Regions from separate parts of the Homo sapiens genome. Here regions 1, 2, 3 and 5 are each linked to region 4. The links are contacts of gene promoters, found by promoter capture Hi-C in blood cells and fetal thymus (Javierre and others, 2016). All regions are on one chromosome and are shown on one strand. The core of a region is centred on a gene start or on the middle of the fragment in contact, and the rest is flanking DNA. Distances in the headings are between cores, read along the strand shown.

Region 1 (2,700 bases), core at 82-2,581, 340 kb after region 4:
GAGATCGAGACCATCCTGGCTAACACGGTGAAATCCCGTCTCCACTAAAAGTAAAAAAAAATTAGCCGGGCGTGGTGGCAGGCGCCTGTAGTCCCAGCTACTCGGGAGGCTGAGGCAGGAGAATGGCATGAACCCGGGAGGCGGAGCTTGCAGTGAGCCGAGATTGCGCCACTGCACTCCAGCCTGGGTGACAGAGCGAGACTCCGTCTTTAAAAAAAAAAAAAAGTATATCCTCAAGGGAGAGTGTGGGTTATTGCTTTCACTCATAGGGAAGTCAGTTTCTAATCCTGTTCCATCATCAGTGATTAAATGTGGTGATGACTTCTCAGTTGAGCTCTGGTTATGGGCACATTATAAAAAAATCATTGTGTAATTTAGCACGGTCTTTGCTGAGGACTCAAGGACTTCAGTAGCAGTGAGAAGGCCAGTACAGGTCAGCCCCCGAGGTAAATTGGGAGCCCTGTCACTGGAACTCAGCTGGAGTGAGAGGTCACAGGAGGTTATGCCGGAACTGCCACAGAGGATCCCATGGGGCAAAGCTTGCCCCGTGCCTGATCCACCCGGTTGTACTTGTCTTTCTTTTCGTGTGTGCTCACATAAAACAACCGCTCCCAGCCAAATCTGTAAACTGTTCATCAGGATTGCTGTTGGATTCTCTCTTTTTTGAAAAGGGAACAATGGTGGGGATAGGGAGCATTGTAATATTTCCATCTCTTGTTCCTCAAAGTAGGTACCACCTTCCCATTATATCCGTGTTTCTTATGCTGATTGAAAATTACATAAGATACTTGGACATTTTTATTTATTTATTTATTTATTTATTGTTTGAGACAGAGTCTCTCTCTGTCGCCCAGGCTGGAGTGCAGTGGCATGATCTTGGCTCACTGCGACCTCCACCTCCCAGGTTCAAGCGATTCTCCTGCCTCAGCCTCCCGAGTAGCTGGGATTACAGGCGCGCGCCACCACGCCCAGCTGATTTTTTGTATTTTTAGTAGAGGTGGGGTTTCACCATGTTGGCCAGGCTGGTCTTGAACTCCTGACCCCATGATTTGCCCGCCTCAGCCTCCCAAAGTGCTGGGATTACAGGCGTGAGCCACCACGCCCAGCGATACTTGGGCATTTTTAGATTTGAGTTATGCTTACGTGTAAATTTGGAATCCTCGTTCTGGTTTTTTCCTGGTGCGTTTTGTTCCCCATTTCCCCAAACCCCTTTTCCGTGCTCTGTGTAGGGCCTGGATGCAGACAGTCTCCGTGTGGAGCCATTGGGTGAAGACAATTCTGGGGCACTATATTGGTATTTCTATGGAACACGAATGTACAAAGAGGACCCGGTGCAAGGAAAATCCAATGGAGAACTCTCTTTGAGCAGGTATGTTCTTCAGTGTTAGGGCATGATAGCTACTGTATTAAAATGTCATTAAGATTAAATGCATCAGAATTCTACAGCACAATTTTTTTTTCCTAATGAAGGAATTCTCTAAGCATGCCTGCAAAGAGATGGTAAGGAGATACTTCATGCAAAAACAAAAAGGAATTAATTCTCTGCTACCAGAGGGGTTAAATATACTTTTTTAATCTGAAGTTCTTGATAGGAGGTTTCTGAGAAATGCCACTCCTCTTGCCACAGGCTATTTTAATATAGCAGGTTTCTTCTCAGCAGCACAATCATTTCACTGCAGTAACAATTTCATCTTGCATCATCAGTCCTTGAGATCTCCTTATTTCGACTAGAATTAATGATGTAGTTTATGCCAGGCGCAGTGGCTCATGCCTGTAATCCCAGCACTCTGGGAGGCCGAGGCGGGCGGATCACGAGGTCAGGAGATCGAGACCATCCTGGCTAATACGGTGAAACCCTGTCTCTACTAAAAATACAAAAAATTAGCCAGGCGTGGTGGCGGGCACCTGTAGTCCCAGCTACTCGGGAGGCTGAGGCAGGAGAATGGTGTGAACCCGGGAGGCTGATCTTGCAGTGAGCCGAGATCGCACCACTGCACTCCAGCCTGGGCGACAGAGCGAGACTCCATCAAAAAAAAAAAAAAAAAAAGAATTTAATGATGTAGTTTATGAACGTTAGTATCCATCAGTTTAAGAACAGAAGGAATTTAAATGATGCCTGAAACATAAGCTTTACTAAGTAAGGAAGAGGCCGCATTTCCATAGCATCCCAAAACAATGCTAACCTCTTATTTAGGCTTTCTTACTGCTAGGAGAATGCTTACTCTTCGGAAGGTGTTAGTTAGATCTTAAGCACATTTTAGTATTGCAAAATGTTAGTTTTCCTCAGATCCACAGTCTAATAATGAAGACTGGAAGTTGCTGTTCCCTTTTCCTTTCACTGCTACATTTAATCCTTTTTGGTAATCTCATGGCCAGAAATACTGTTTTAAAATCATATGTAGCAATGCCAATCCTGTGCCAGAACATTTCTATTTAATATTATTTATTAGGGAAAGTGAAGGACAAAAAAATGTCTCAAGTATTCCTGGAAAAACGGGAAAAAGAAGAGGAAGACCCCCAAAACGGAAGAAACTGCAGGAGGAGATTCTGTTGAGGTAAGAAAATCTTGTTAGTTGTGGTCATAGACCATGGCAGAAGGGACCTTAATTCATTTATTCCTTTTTCTTTATTTTGCCTGTGCCATGGGAAGCACATTATTATAGCAACCTGAAACTGAGTCCTTATGAAATTACCACATGT
Region 2 (2,700 bases), core at 81-2,580, 320 kb after region 4:
GGGAGGTGGAGGTTGCAGTGAGCCAAGATCGTGTCATTGCACTCCAGCCTGGGTGACAGAGCGAGACTCTGTCTCAAAAAAAAAAAAAAAAAAAAAGTAACTTCATTTAGTTGTGCATAATTCGCCTCATCTATAAAATGGAATTAGTGACAATATTCAGTAAAGTTATTATGAGGATTAAACGAAATGATGAGTGAGAGTAATCATCATGAAACACTATGCCTAGTTCCTCCAAAGGCTCAGCAGAAAACAGATTTTGACTCAACCAAGTGTCTGTATCCTTTTCCGTTGTGGTTTGCATGTTTTAGAACAGGGGCCAGCAAATGTTTTTTGTAAAGGGCCAGATAGTCAATACAGGCATGCATCACATACTGTCATTTTGTTCAGTGGCAGACCTCATGTACGACAGTGGTCACACGAGGTTGTGATAGACACAAAAATTTTTATCCCCTAGAGATATTATTGCCCTTGTAACATGCTTGCACATGCATTACTCATGTGGTTATGGTGATGCTGGTGTAAACAAACCTAGTGCGCTACCAGTCATATAAAGACCTAGCACTTACAGGCCAGGCGTGGTGGCTCACGCCTGTAATCCTAGCACTTTGGGAGGCCGAGGCGGGCGGATCACCAGGTCAGGAGATCAAGACCATCCTGGCTAACACAGTGAAACCCCATCTCTACTAAAGATACAAAAAAGTAGCCGGGCGTGGTGGCGGCACCTGTAGTCCCAGCTACTCGGGAGACTGAGGCAGGAGAATGGCATGAACCTGGGAGGCGGAGCTTGCAGGAAGCCGAGATCACGCCACTGCTCTCCAGCCTGGGTGACAGATCGAGACTCTGTCTCCAAAAAAAAAAAAAAAAAAAAAAAAAAGGGCGTGGCATGGTGACTCACGCCTGCAATCCCAGCACTTTGGGAGGCTGAGGCAGGTGGATCACAAGGTCAGAAGATCGAGACCATCCTGGCTAACATGGTGAAACCCCGTCTCTACTAAAAATACAAAAAATTAGCCGGGCGTGGTGGCAGGTGCCTGTAGTCCCAGCTACTCGGGAGGCTGAGGCAGGAGAATGGCGTGAACCCAGGAGGCAGAGCTTGCAGTGAGCCAAGATCATGCCACCGTACTCCAGCCTGGGCGACAGAGCGAGACAAGACATAGCATATACCGTCATGTACACTACATAATAGTTGATAGTAAACAACTCTTACTGGTTTCTGTATTTACTGTGCCGTACTTTAAATCATTATTTTAGAGTGTATTCCTTCTAGTTTTGTTTAGTTTTTTTGACACGGGGTCTCACTCTGGCACCCAGGCTGGAGTGCAGTGGTGCAGTCTTGGCTCCCTGCAATCTCCACCTCCTGGTCTCAAACGATCTTCCCACTTCAGCCTCCCAAGTAGCTGGGACTCCAGGCGTGCACCACCAGGCCCATCTAATTTCTTTATTTTGGGGTAGAGGTAGGGTTTCATCATGTTGGCCATGATGGTTTTGAACTCCTTTTTTTTTTTTTTTTTTGAGACGGTGTCCTGCCTCAGCCTCCCCAGCAGCTGGGACTACAGGTGCCCACCACCACACCTTGCTACTTTTTTTGTATTTTTAGTAGAGACGGAGTTTCACCGCATTAGCCAGGATGGTCTCGATCTCCTGACCTCGTGATCCTCCCACCTTGGCCTCCCAAAGTGCTGGGATTACAGGCGTGAGCCACCGCGCCCAGCCTAGTTATTTTTAAAAAGTTAACTATAATATACAACAGCCTCAGGCGGTCCTTCAGAAGAGATTCCAGAAGAAGGCATTGTTACAGGAGATGACAGCACCGTGCATGTTACTGCCTTGAAGACGTTCCAGTGGGACAAGATGTCGAGGTGGAAGACAGTAATATTGATGATCCTGACCCTGTGTCGGCCTAGGCCGATGTGTGTGTTTTTGTCTTCCTTTTGAACAAAACAGATCAAATGTAAAAAACAAAAAATTTCAACAATAGAAAACAGCTTATAGAATAAGGATATAAAGAAGGCCGCCACACAGTGGCTCATGCCTGTAATCCCAGCACTCTGGGAGGATGAGGTGAGAGGACGGTTTGAGGCCAGGAGTTCGAGACCAGCCTGGGCAACATAGCAAGACTCCGTCTCTACTAAAAAATAAAAATAAATGAATTAGCTGGGCAATATAGCAAGACCCCTGTCTCTACTAAAAAAATTAAAATAATTATCTGGACATGGTGGTGCATGCATGTAGTCTAAGCTACTAGGGAGGTTGAGGTGGGAGGATCAGGAGTTGGAGGCTGCAGTGAGCTACGGTCCCTACTGCACTCTAGCTGTGGCTACAGAGCAGAAAAAAAAAGAAAAAAATATTTTTGTATAGCTCTAAAAAGTGTTTTAGGCTGTTATTACAAAAGAATCAAAAAGTTAAAAGTTTGTGAATTTTTAAATGTCATAGTAAGCTAAATTTATTATTGAAGGAAAGGTTTTTTTTAAAATAAACATAGTATAGCCTAAGTTTACAGCATTTAGAAAGTTTACAGTGATGTACAGTCATGTGCCAAGCCTTCACATTCATTTACTACTCAGTTACTGATTCACCCAGAGCAACTTTAGTTCTGCAAGCTGCACTCATGACAAGTGCTTTATACAGATACACCATTTTAAAAATCTTTTGTACCATGTCCTTACTATACCTTTTCTATGTTTAGATGTGTCTGGATCC
Region 3 (2,700 bases), core at 185-2,684, 480 kb after region 4:
CTTCTGCCTCAGCCTCCCCAGTAGCTGGGACTGAAGGTGCGCGCCACCATGCCCAGCTAATTTTTTGTATTTTTAGTAGAGACGGGGTTTCACTGTGTTGGCCAGGATGGTCTCCATCTCCTGACCTCGTGATCCGTCCCCCTTGGCCTCCCAAAGTGCTGGGATTATAGGCGTGAACCACCACGCCCGGCCTACAAAAACATCTTTTAAAAAGTAGCCATGTGTGGCCTGGGGCGGTGGCTCACGCCTGTAATCCCACCACTTTGGGAGTCTGAGGTGGGTGGATCACTTGGGGTCAGGAGTTCGAGAGCAGCCTGGCCAACACACTGAAACCCCGTCTCTACTAAAAATACAAAATGTAGCCAGGCATAGTGGTGCACACCTGTAGTCCCAGCTACTTTGGAGGCTGAGGCAGGAGAATCACTTGAGCCCAGGAGGCTGAGGTTGCAGTGAGCCAAGATCTGCCACTGCACTCCAGCCCAGGCAACAGAGGGAGACTCCGTCTCAAAAAAAAGAAAAAAAAAAAAAAAAGCTACATGTGGTGGCACAAGCCTGTGGTCCTTGATACTTGGGAGGCTGAGGTGGAACAATTGTGAGCCCAGGAGGTCCATGATGCAGTGAGGTATGATTGTACCACTGCACTCCAGGCTGGGTAACAGAAGCGACACCTTGTCTCTAAAAAAATAAATAAGACCAGGCATGGTGGCTCACGACTGTAATCCCAGCACTTTGGGAGGCCGAGAGGGGTGATCACCCAAGGCCAAGAGTTGGAGACCAGCCTGGCCAACATGGCGAAACCCTATCTCTACTAAGAATACAAAAAAAAAATATTAGCCAGGTGTGGTGGTGGGTGCCTGTAATCCCAGCTACTCAGGAGGCTGAAGCAGGAGAATCGCTTGAACCCAGGAGGTGAGGTTCAGTGAGCTGAGATCGCGCCATTGCACTACAGCCTGGGTGACAGAGCAAGACTCTGTCTCGAGAAAATAATAATAAAAAATAAATAAATAAATAAAGGAAAAGACTGAGAGCAATGTGAAAGAAATGAACTTAAGTATGTACCAAATTGGTAACATAAGTACCTCCCAAAATAAATTATTGCATGTTACATTTTTGAAAGTTTTTTTAGGTAAAGTGTACATACAGTGAACTGCACAGACCTTAAAAGTAAAATTAGGGCCGGGCGCGGTGGCGCACCCCTGTAATCCCAGCACTTTGGGAGGCTGAGGCAGGCGGATCTCTTGAGGTCAGGAGTAGGAGACTAGCCTGGCCAACATGGTGAGACCCCGTCTCTATTAAAAATTTTTAAAAAGCCAGGCACGGTGGCTCACGTCTGTAATCCCAGCACTTTGGGAGGCCAAGGCGAGTGGATCACCTGAAGTCAGGAGTTCAAGACCAGCCTAACCAACGTGGAGAAACTCTGCCTCTACTAAAAATACAAAAATTAGCTGGGCATGGTGGTGGGTGCCTGTAATCCCAGCTACTTGGGAGGCTGAGGCAGGAGAATCGCTTGAACCCGAAAGGCAGAGGTTGCAGTGAGCTGAGATCGCGCCCCTGCACTCCAGCCTGGGCGACAGAGTGAGACTCTGCCTCAAAAAAAAAAAAAAAAAGTCTTCATTTTTGGTTACCCATTTCACTGCAACCTTTGCCTCCCAGGCTCAAGCGATTCTCCTGCATCGGCCTCCCAAGTAGCTGGGATTACAGGCGCGTGACACCATACCTGGCTAATTTTTTGTGTTTTTAGTACAGATGGGGAGTTTCACCATGTTGGCCAGGCAGGTCTGAAACTCCTGACCTCAAGTGATCCGCCCACCTTGGCTTCTCAAAGTGCTGGGATTACAGGAGTGATCCACCACACCCGGCCTGTACTATTAGTTTTCCAAGGTCACTAAGCCTTTCCTTTGCAAAACTTTATGTCCCTATTAATGGCACCATCCTTTCCTCAGTCACTCGGGCTTAAAAAGCATCCTGTGGCACCAGCCCCACAATAGCAGTTCAACTCTTTTATCACTTCCTTTAGAATAGCCTTGTTGAGATATAGATCTCATAACATAGAATTCACCTATAGTGTACAATTCAGTAGTTTTCAGTATTTCAAAGAGTCGTGCCACCATCACCCCAAAAAGAAACTCTGTATCCACTGGCAGTCACTCCCCATCAGGATTTTATCACTTCTGATCTGGCTCAGTCTTCTAACTCCTTATTGTCAATGCCCTCCTTGTTCCAATTCAGTACACACACCACGGGCAATTTGATCTCCCTAAAACACACTGTATCCTCTCTCCTAGATACCTTCCGATACTCCTCCAAAGAACTCTCGGATTCAAGTAAACAAACATCCATTAATACAAGTTAAGTATGTTCCAGGCGCTGTGTGTTCCAGGTACTGTTAACAAAAGCGGGTTACTAGTTAAGACTTCCTTCATGCCCTGGCGCCTCTGCTCAGCCAGTTCCCTTCGCCTAGGAGGACCTCTCTACACCACCCCGCTATATTCCCTCCCCGGAATTCCTTCCCAACCTTCAAGGACCATCTGCCCCAACTAGTGGCGAACATCGAGGCTGTCGTGACTGTGTAGATACTTATTTGACCTGCTCCCTTGGCAAACACTTGAAACGCAATACATGTTTGTGGAACTGAACATAGCCTGTGCATGCAGCAAGGCTTCTTTCCCTGGAATCGCCTGCCCTTCCTCCAACACAGCG
Region 4 (2,700 bases), core at 97-2,596:
AGTACTTTCCTCGGAGTTGTTATAAAGATTATACGAATAACTGTGAAGTACTTAGAATAGTGCCTGGCACAAAGTAAGCACTATGTGTTTTTTTCATGCAAGTAATTTGGCCGGGTGCACTGGCTCATGCCTGTAATCTCACCACTCTGGGAGGCCAAGATGTGAGGATCATCTGAGGTCAAAAGTTCGAGACCAGCCTGGCCAACATGGTGAAACCCTGTCTCTACTAAAAATACAAAAATTAGCCGGATGTGGTGGCGGGTGCCTGTAATCCCAGCTACTCGGGAGGCTGAGACAGAAGAATCGCTTGAACCCGGGAGGCGGAGGTTGCAGTGAGCAGAGATTGCGCCACTGCACTCCAACCTGGTGACAGAGATGCCGTCTAAAAAAAAAAAATGCAAGGATTACTGTGAAATCCGTATGTTAATGTAAAATATTACTTGTGCGTTTAGAAGACAAAGTGATTCCTTTTTCCAGAAAAGGCAAAACGGCCCAAGGGAGCGTGAGAGCCGTGGATCTGACCAACCTGGTTTAGTGTCCTGTGCCGTCTCCCAGCTGCAGGACCTGAGAAAACGTACTTGAAAACTCGTCAAGCTTCGGCTTCCTGACCACACAAGGTCACACCTTCTCAGAAGTTGCGGGGAGGCTCACACATCACTACCGCGCCGGGCACACAGCAGGCGCCGGCTCCAGCCCTCCTGCTCCCGCCCGCGGAGCCTCCAGCGCTCAGTCGAGGTCACAGCGAGCTGAACTGAACCCAAGGCCCGCACCAAACCCACAGGCACTTGGGGGCGGAGCACCCGCAGGCGCGGCTCCCGGCGCGCGGCCCAGTTTCCTCCACATGCAGATGAAAATCACGACCCAAACGTCCTCATGGTGGAAATCAGAAGACGCGCAGGGAAAACAGGGACGCGGAAACTGCCGGGAAGCGCAGGGGCTGACAAGCAGCCTGGCCCAGGCCGTCCCACGAGCGCTCTCCCGCGGGAGTAGCGTTTCCGAGGCCGCCAGCGAGTCAGAGGAAGGCAGGGCGCATCCGCCCTCCAGCAAGAACGCGATGCACTCGGGCGCGACGACGGTCCAGGCAGTTCCCAGGAGGCTGGGATACCAGCCCGGCCGCCCCTCCTTCCCCGCGGCTCCCCGCCCCGCCTCCGGCCCTGAGTGGCGAGTGGCTCGGCCAGAACCCGGACGTCCTCACCTGAGCGGGGCCCACAGCATAGCACCTGCGGGCGGGGCGGCCCTGGAGCCCCGCAGCCGCGCGCGCCGCCCGCCAGCAAAGCCCACGCGCCGCGCCGAGCGCAGCCACACAGCCCCACGCAGCCATCCGGCCGTCGCCGTGCGCACGTGCACGGCGTGCGGCCCCCCCCCCCCGCGAGTCCGTCCGCTGCACAGCCAATCAGCGGTCGGCGCGCGCGGCATCACGGGAGTTGTAGTCCTGTAAGCGCGCGGAGCCCGTCGGGCGCCTATGGAACTCGACCCGCAGGCCAAAGGGGCTCCGTTGCAAGGAAGAAGTGCGGGGTCCCGCCGCCTCCTAGACCGAGATCGCGGTGAGCTGGCCGCGGCGCACAATGGGCACGGCCTGGGCGGCGGCGTCCGTACTATCGCCCTGTGCCTGCGGATCCCGGTAACATTGCGCGGCAGGCCCCAGGCCGGCCTCCCTCAGCTTCGCGGACTGTCTGGGCCGGGGGTCTCAACCTTGACTTCAGGGCCGGGCCGCTGGGGCAGACCCTTAGTGATGTTCAGGTCCTCTGGGCCCCTGCCAGTCAAGGGACGCTCGTCGCGCGCCAATTGTTAAGTCTTTCATTGTTTCTGTAAACCTGCTGACGCCCTCCCAGCGCATAGGGAGACTGCGCACGTGAGTCCGCCCCCGCGCGCACTGCGGAGAGGTAGAGGCACGAATGTAGTACAAGGTACAAAATGACTACTCCAGAGAGGGCCAGATGACTAAGTCAGCAAACACTTAGGGAACACGACTGTGTCCGCTGCGCGTTTCCCGGAGTAGACACAAGGGTGAATGAACAAAGAATGGATTTCGGTCACTGAAAGTGGAGAGGTAGCCGACTCCGTCCGTGGAGGCCCTTAGCAGAGCTGGATCTGGTAGTCCCCCGGTCATGAGGGGAGATTCTGCTGGAGGAAAGAGGTCTCCATTCCCACCGTTTGAAATGTGTAGGATGCCCTCAGATTCTTTGGCCCATTCATAGGTATAGCTATGCTAAAAACGCGGGACCCTACAATGTACTTAGCACTAGCAGAGAGGGAGTCGAGGATATGGACAGAGACTGCACTAGCTCACACATTAGCAGGCCAGGGTGCGGTGGCTCACCCCTGTAATCCCAGAACTTTGGAAGGTCAAGGTGGGAGGAAAACTTGAGTCCAGGAGTTCCAGACCAGCCTGGGCAACATAGGGAGACCCCTTCTCTATTTTAAAAATAATAAAATAGGGCCGGGTGCGGTGGCTCACACCTGTAATCCCAGCACTTTGGGAGACTGAGGCGAGTGGATCAGGAGGTCAGGGGTTCAAGACCACCTAGCCAAGATGGTGAAACCCCGTCTCTGCTGAAAACTGCAAAAATTAGCCAGGCGCGGTGGCAGGCGCCTCAAGTCCCAGCTACTCGGGAGGCTGAGGCAGGAGAATCGCTTGAACCCAGGCAGCAGAAGTTGCAGTGAGCCGAGATTGCGCCAATGCACTCCAGCCTGGGTGAC
Region 5 (2,700 bases), core at 170-2,669, 280 kb after region 4:
GGACAACCAGTGAAAAGCAAAACAAAACTACAGACCAAAACAAACGTTGCTGCCTGCTACCAGTTTGCAATTTCTTATGCATTCCATGAAACTGACTAGTTGACAGTCTTTTCAGATTGACAGTCCATGAACAGGAATTTGCTAATATTTCTAAGACTCAGACCTTGGCAGAAAGATCGGAAAGCAAGGTAGAATTTGGAGACCGGGTTTTATAATTGTAAGATCTCACTTTTGTGAATTGCTGATTAGAATTCACAAAAGTTAGATCCATGGTGCAGTGCCTCTTCTCTCATCTCTAAGTTTAGGAAGCCCTCAGCACCTTTTGAACTGTGTAACCTGACAAGAAAGATGTCTGGGGAATTAGCAAGTTCTATTTTTGTTTGGTCCAGTGAAAATTCTGGACAGGCCACAAACACATTCTAGGGAGTCTAGAATAGACTCCCTTGAGCTCTTTTAATTCTTAAAAAAAAAAAAAAAAAAAAAAAAAACAGGAGCAGGACCATCCAACTTAATCCAGTGAAACGGTGATTTTTTCTCATAGTCATCCCATCCCTTATACAGTGTCTCTCTGGCCAAATTAATTAATACATCAGATGTTCTGAAACACACTGTACTAAATTAGATTTGGGGTCATAGCTATGAATTATCAGTCATCCTCCAAGGGTGCTGGGCAAAGCAAAGGTAAATTTTTTGAAACTTTAGTTTCTTTCTTTTCTTTTCTTTACCTTCTTTCTTTCCCTTCCTCCCTCCCTCCCTCTGTCTGTCTCGCTCTGTCACCCAGGCTGGAGTGCAGTGGCACCATCTCAGCTCACTGCAACCTCCGCCTCCTGAGTTCAAGAGATTCTCCTGCCTCAGCCTCCTGGGTGGCTGGGACTACAGGTGCGTGTCACCACGCTCAGTTAATTTTTTATATTTTTAGTAGAGACGGGGTTTCACGGTGTTAGCCAGGATGGTCTTGATCTCCTGATCTCGTGATCTGCCCGCCTCGGCTTCCCAAAGTGCTGGGATTGCAGGTGTGAGCCACTGCACCCGGCCTTTAGTTTCTTGATGTACCATTTGCTGTTAGCTTAAATTATGCCAACTACAGCCCAAGCTTAATTCAACATTTAAATAAAGTTCTATGCACAATAATACAACACAGCACTTCTATTATAGCAACAACATTAGCTGTCTCTAGTTCCTAAAATAAGAAACTGGAGTGACGGAAGAAAGACTTGGGTTGCTTGTTCCCACCTTTGACTTGTAAACTTCCTTAATGGTCTTTCATCAGATGCTTAAGCTGCCAGAGTATCCCTTATGAATTAACCAGCTACTCTGTGGGAAACTGCTTTTGTACTACTTCCAATTCTGACAACCTTTTTCTCAAGTTGAGCTGCCTCTGTTCCTACTTCTGAAATGCCTGTGCAATGCTGACTGAGTTTGTCACCAGTAAGTTCTCCCCAGACAGGGAAGTCCTGCGGGACCAGTATCAGTCCTCAGTCAGGAAGAGGTTGTATAAATAGCGGGTGCTCACACTCTAGAAAAAGGGGCGGAGGAGAAGGTAAGTGTTGAGCCCCAGATGTGAACTCCTATTTTTGTTTCAGGGTAATTAATGTTTCCTTAAGTGAGCTAAGCCTTGGGCTCTTGCGCCTCTGGCTTTCAGGCCTGAATCAGCAATCTTTAGGCAGGAACTGGGGGTGGGGAAAAGGATTTTGTATTTCATGTCATCCCCAAATGAATGAAGTAATATGAGAGCAGCACTTTCTGAAGCTTGGCCTTGAGGCTGGAGAATGGGTTGTGGAAGGTGAAAACTTTCCTTTTAAAATCCTAGTGACTTGGGGAGAACTGGCCTCTGACAAGTCTCTTGCTGCAGTCTGATGACTGCAGCTCTCAGAGATGCTGTTGGGTTGTCTGGTGTTTGTTTCTAGTTCTCTGCTCGAGTGTTAGTGCCATTAGATGGTCTTGCCCCTGTCTGCGGTTCTGCCTTCCATGTCTTCCCCTTCCCCCTTGGCCTCCTAAATTAGATACATTCCCCCTCTGCTCCCAGACGTCTCCATCTCCTCATCCCCTGACAGAGCAATCATTTATCAAGTTGTTTCACGCGTTGTCGGGAGGGGGGCCCTGGGGACTCAGTTTGTTTCGTCCCTTTGTTGAAGCTCCACAGGATCGGCCAGCTTAGTCTCCAGCCAACTGCTGAGAGTTGCTGGACTCCAGGAGCAAATGTTAAAGGGGCCGCCTTTCATCTACTTGCTGTGACTTCAACCTTTCTATTTAAATTCCAGCTTATTGGAACTCACATACGTACACTTCCTCGACATGTTTTTGATCATATGATATTTCTTTTTCATTATGTACCTCCCCATCCATACCATCACTGAGGACCTGAAATAGATTTTTCATAGTATATTACTGTAGACATACTTTGTAAGTAGGAGTTCCTGCTTTTTTATGACTTCTTTTTATGTATGCTTTGACTTATCAAGGTGTCACACTGTTGACCATAGAAATTTCTAAATAGTATAGGGATTAAAAAAAATTTTAAAGTTTGTCAGACTTTAAAATGCAAGGTGAGCATCACTGCTTCTTAGCAGGAGTGATGAAGGTTTTCCATAGTGTCTACAAAGATAAAAGGAAAAATTTCCTTCGACTTCAAGGATGTATAGTGTGAATGTTAACCAATGTTGACCATGAATTTGAAAGATGGATGTTACTCACTGTAAC

The links. Contacts are between HindIII fragments. The CHiCAGO score rates a contact against its expected background, and 5 or more counts as called.
Region 1: a fragment that was not itself captured here is called in contact with the fragment with the promoter of HDHD5 in region 4 in 15 of 17 cell types (M0 macrophages, M2 macrophages, M1 macrophages and 12 more); the score reaches 29.4 in M0 macrophages.
Region 2: a contact is called between a fragment that was not itself captured here and the fragment with the promoter of HDHD5 in region 4, in 1 of 17 cell types (naive B cells). The highest score is 5.3, in naive B cells.
Region 3: a contact is called between a fragment that was not itself captured here and the fragment with the promoter of HDHD5 in region 4, in 6 of 17 cell types (total CD8 T cells, neutrophils, naive CD8 T cells and 3 more). The highest score is 9.0, in total CD8 T cells.
Region 5: a fragment that was not itself captured here is called in contact with the fragment with the promoter of HDHD5 in region 4 in 1 of 17 cell types (naive B cells); the score reaches 6.7 in naive B cells.

The regions. Positions count from the first base shown.
Region 1 is chr22:17,498,181-17,500,880 of GRCh38, forward strand. It overlaps CECR2 (CECR2 histone acetyl-lysine reader), which reads left to right. Exons shown (of 19, transcript NM_001290047.2): 4 at 1,230-1,369; 5 at 2,451-2,555. Among named protein-coding and RNA genes, the nearest start is that of SLC25A18, 64 kb to the right of the region's middle. The HindIII fragment of the contact is 1,589 bases long and covers 538-2,126 here.
Region 2 is chr22:17,481,268-17,483,967 of GRCh38, forward strand. All of the region lies in intron 2 of CECR2 (CECR2 histone acetyl-lysine reader), which reads left to right. Among named protein-coding and RNA genes, the nearest start is that of SLC25A18, 81 kb to the right of the region's middle. The HindIII fragment of the contact is 8,324 bases long and covers 1-2,700 here.
Region 3 is chr22:17,635,817-17,638,516 of GRCh38, forward strand. It overlaps a transcript of BCL2L13 not described here. Among named protein-coding and RNA genes, the nearest start is that of BCL2L13, 1.6 kb to the right of the region's middle. RefSeq lists enhancers at 1,206-2,078, 2,079-2,700, 2,503-2,552, 2,603-2,700. The HindIII fragment of the contact is 6,545 bases long and covers 1-2,700 here.
Region 4 is chr22:17,157,931-17,160,630 of GRCh38, forward strand. HDHD5 (haloacid dehalogenase like hydrolase domain containing 5) reads right to left here and starts at 1,347. Exons shown (of 8, transcript NM_033070.3): 1 at 1,196-1,347. The coding sequence starts at 1,321. It overlaps HDHD5-AS1 (HDHD5 antisense RNA 1), which reads left to right and starts at 1,459. Exons shown (of 2, transcript NR_024483.1): 1 at 1,459-1,907. RefSeq lists a silencer at 1,029-1,358. The HindIII fragment of the contact is 6,885 bases long and covers 593-2,700 here.
Region 5 is chr22:17,435,223-17,437,922 of GRCh38, forward strand. The region is part of intron 1 of CECR2 (CECR2 histone acetyl-lysine reader); the gene reads left to right. Among named protein-coding and RNA genes, the nearest start is that of CECR2, 67 kb to the left of the region's middle. RefSeq lists an enhancer at 344-904. The HindIII fragment of the contact is 656 bases long and covers 1,092-1,747 here.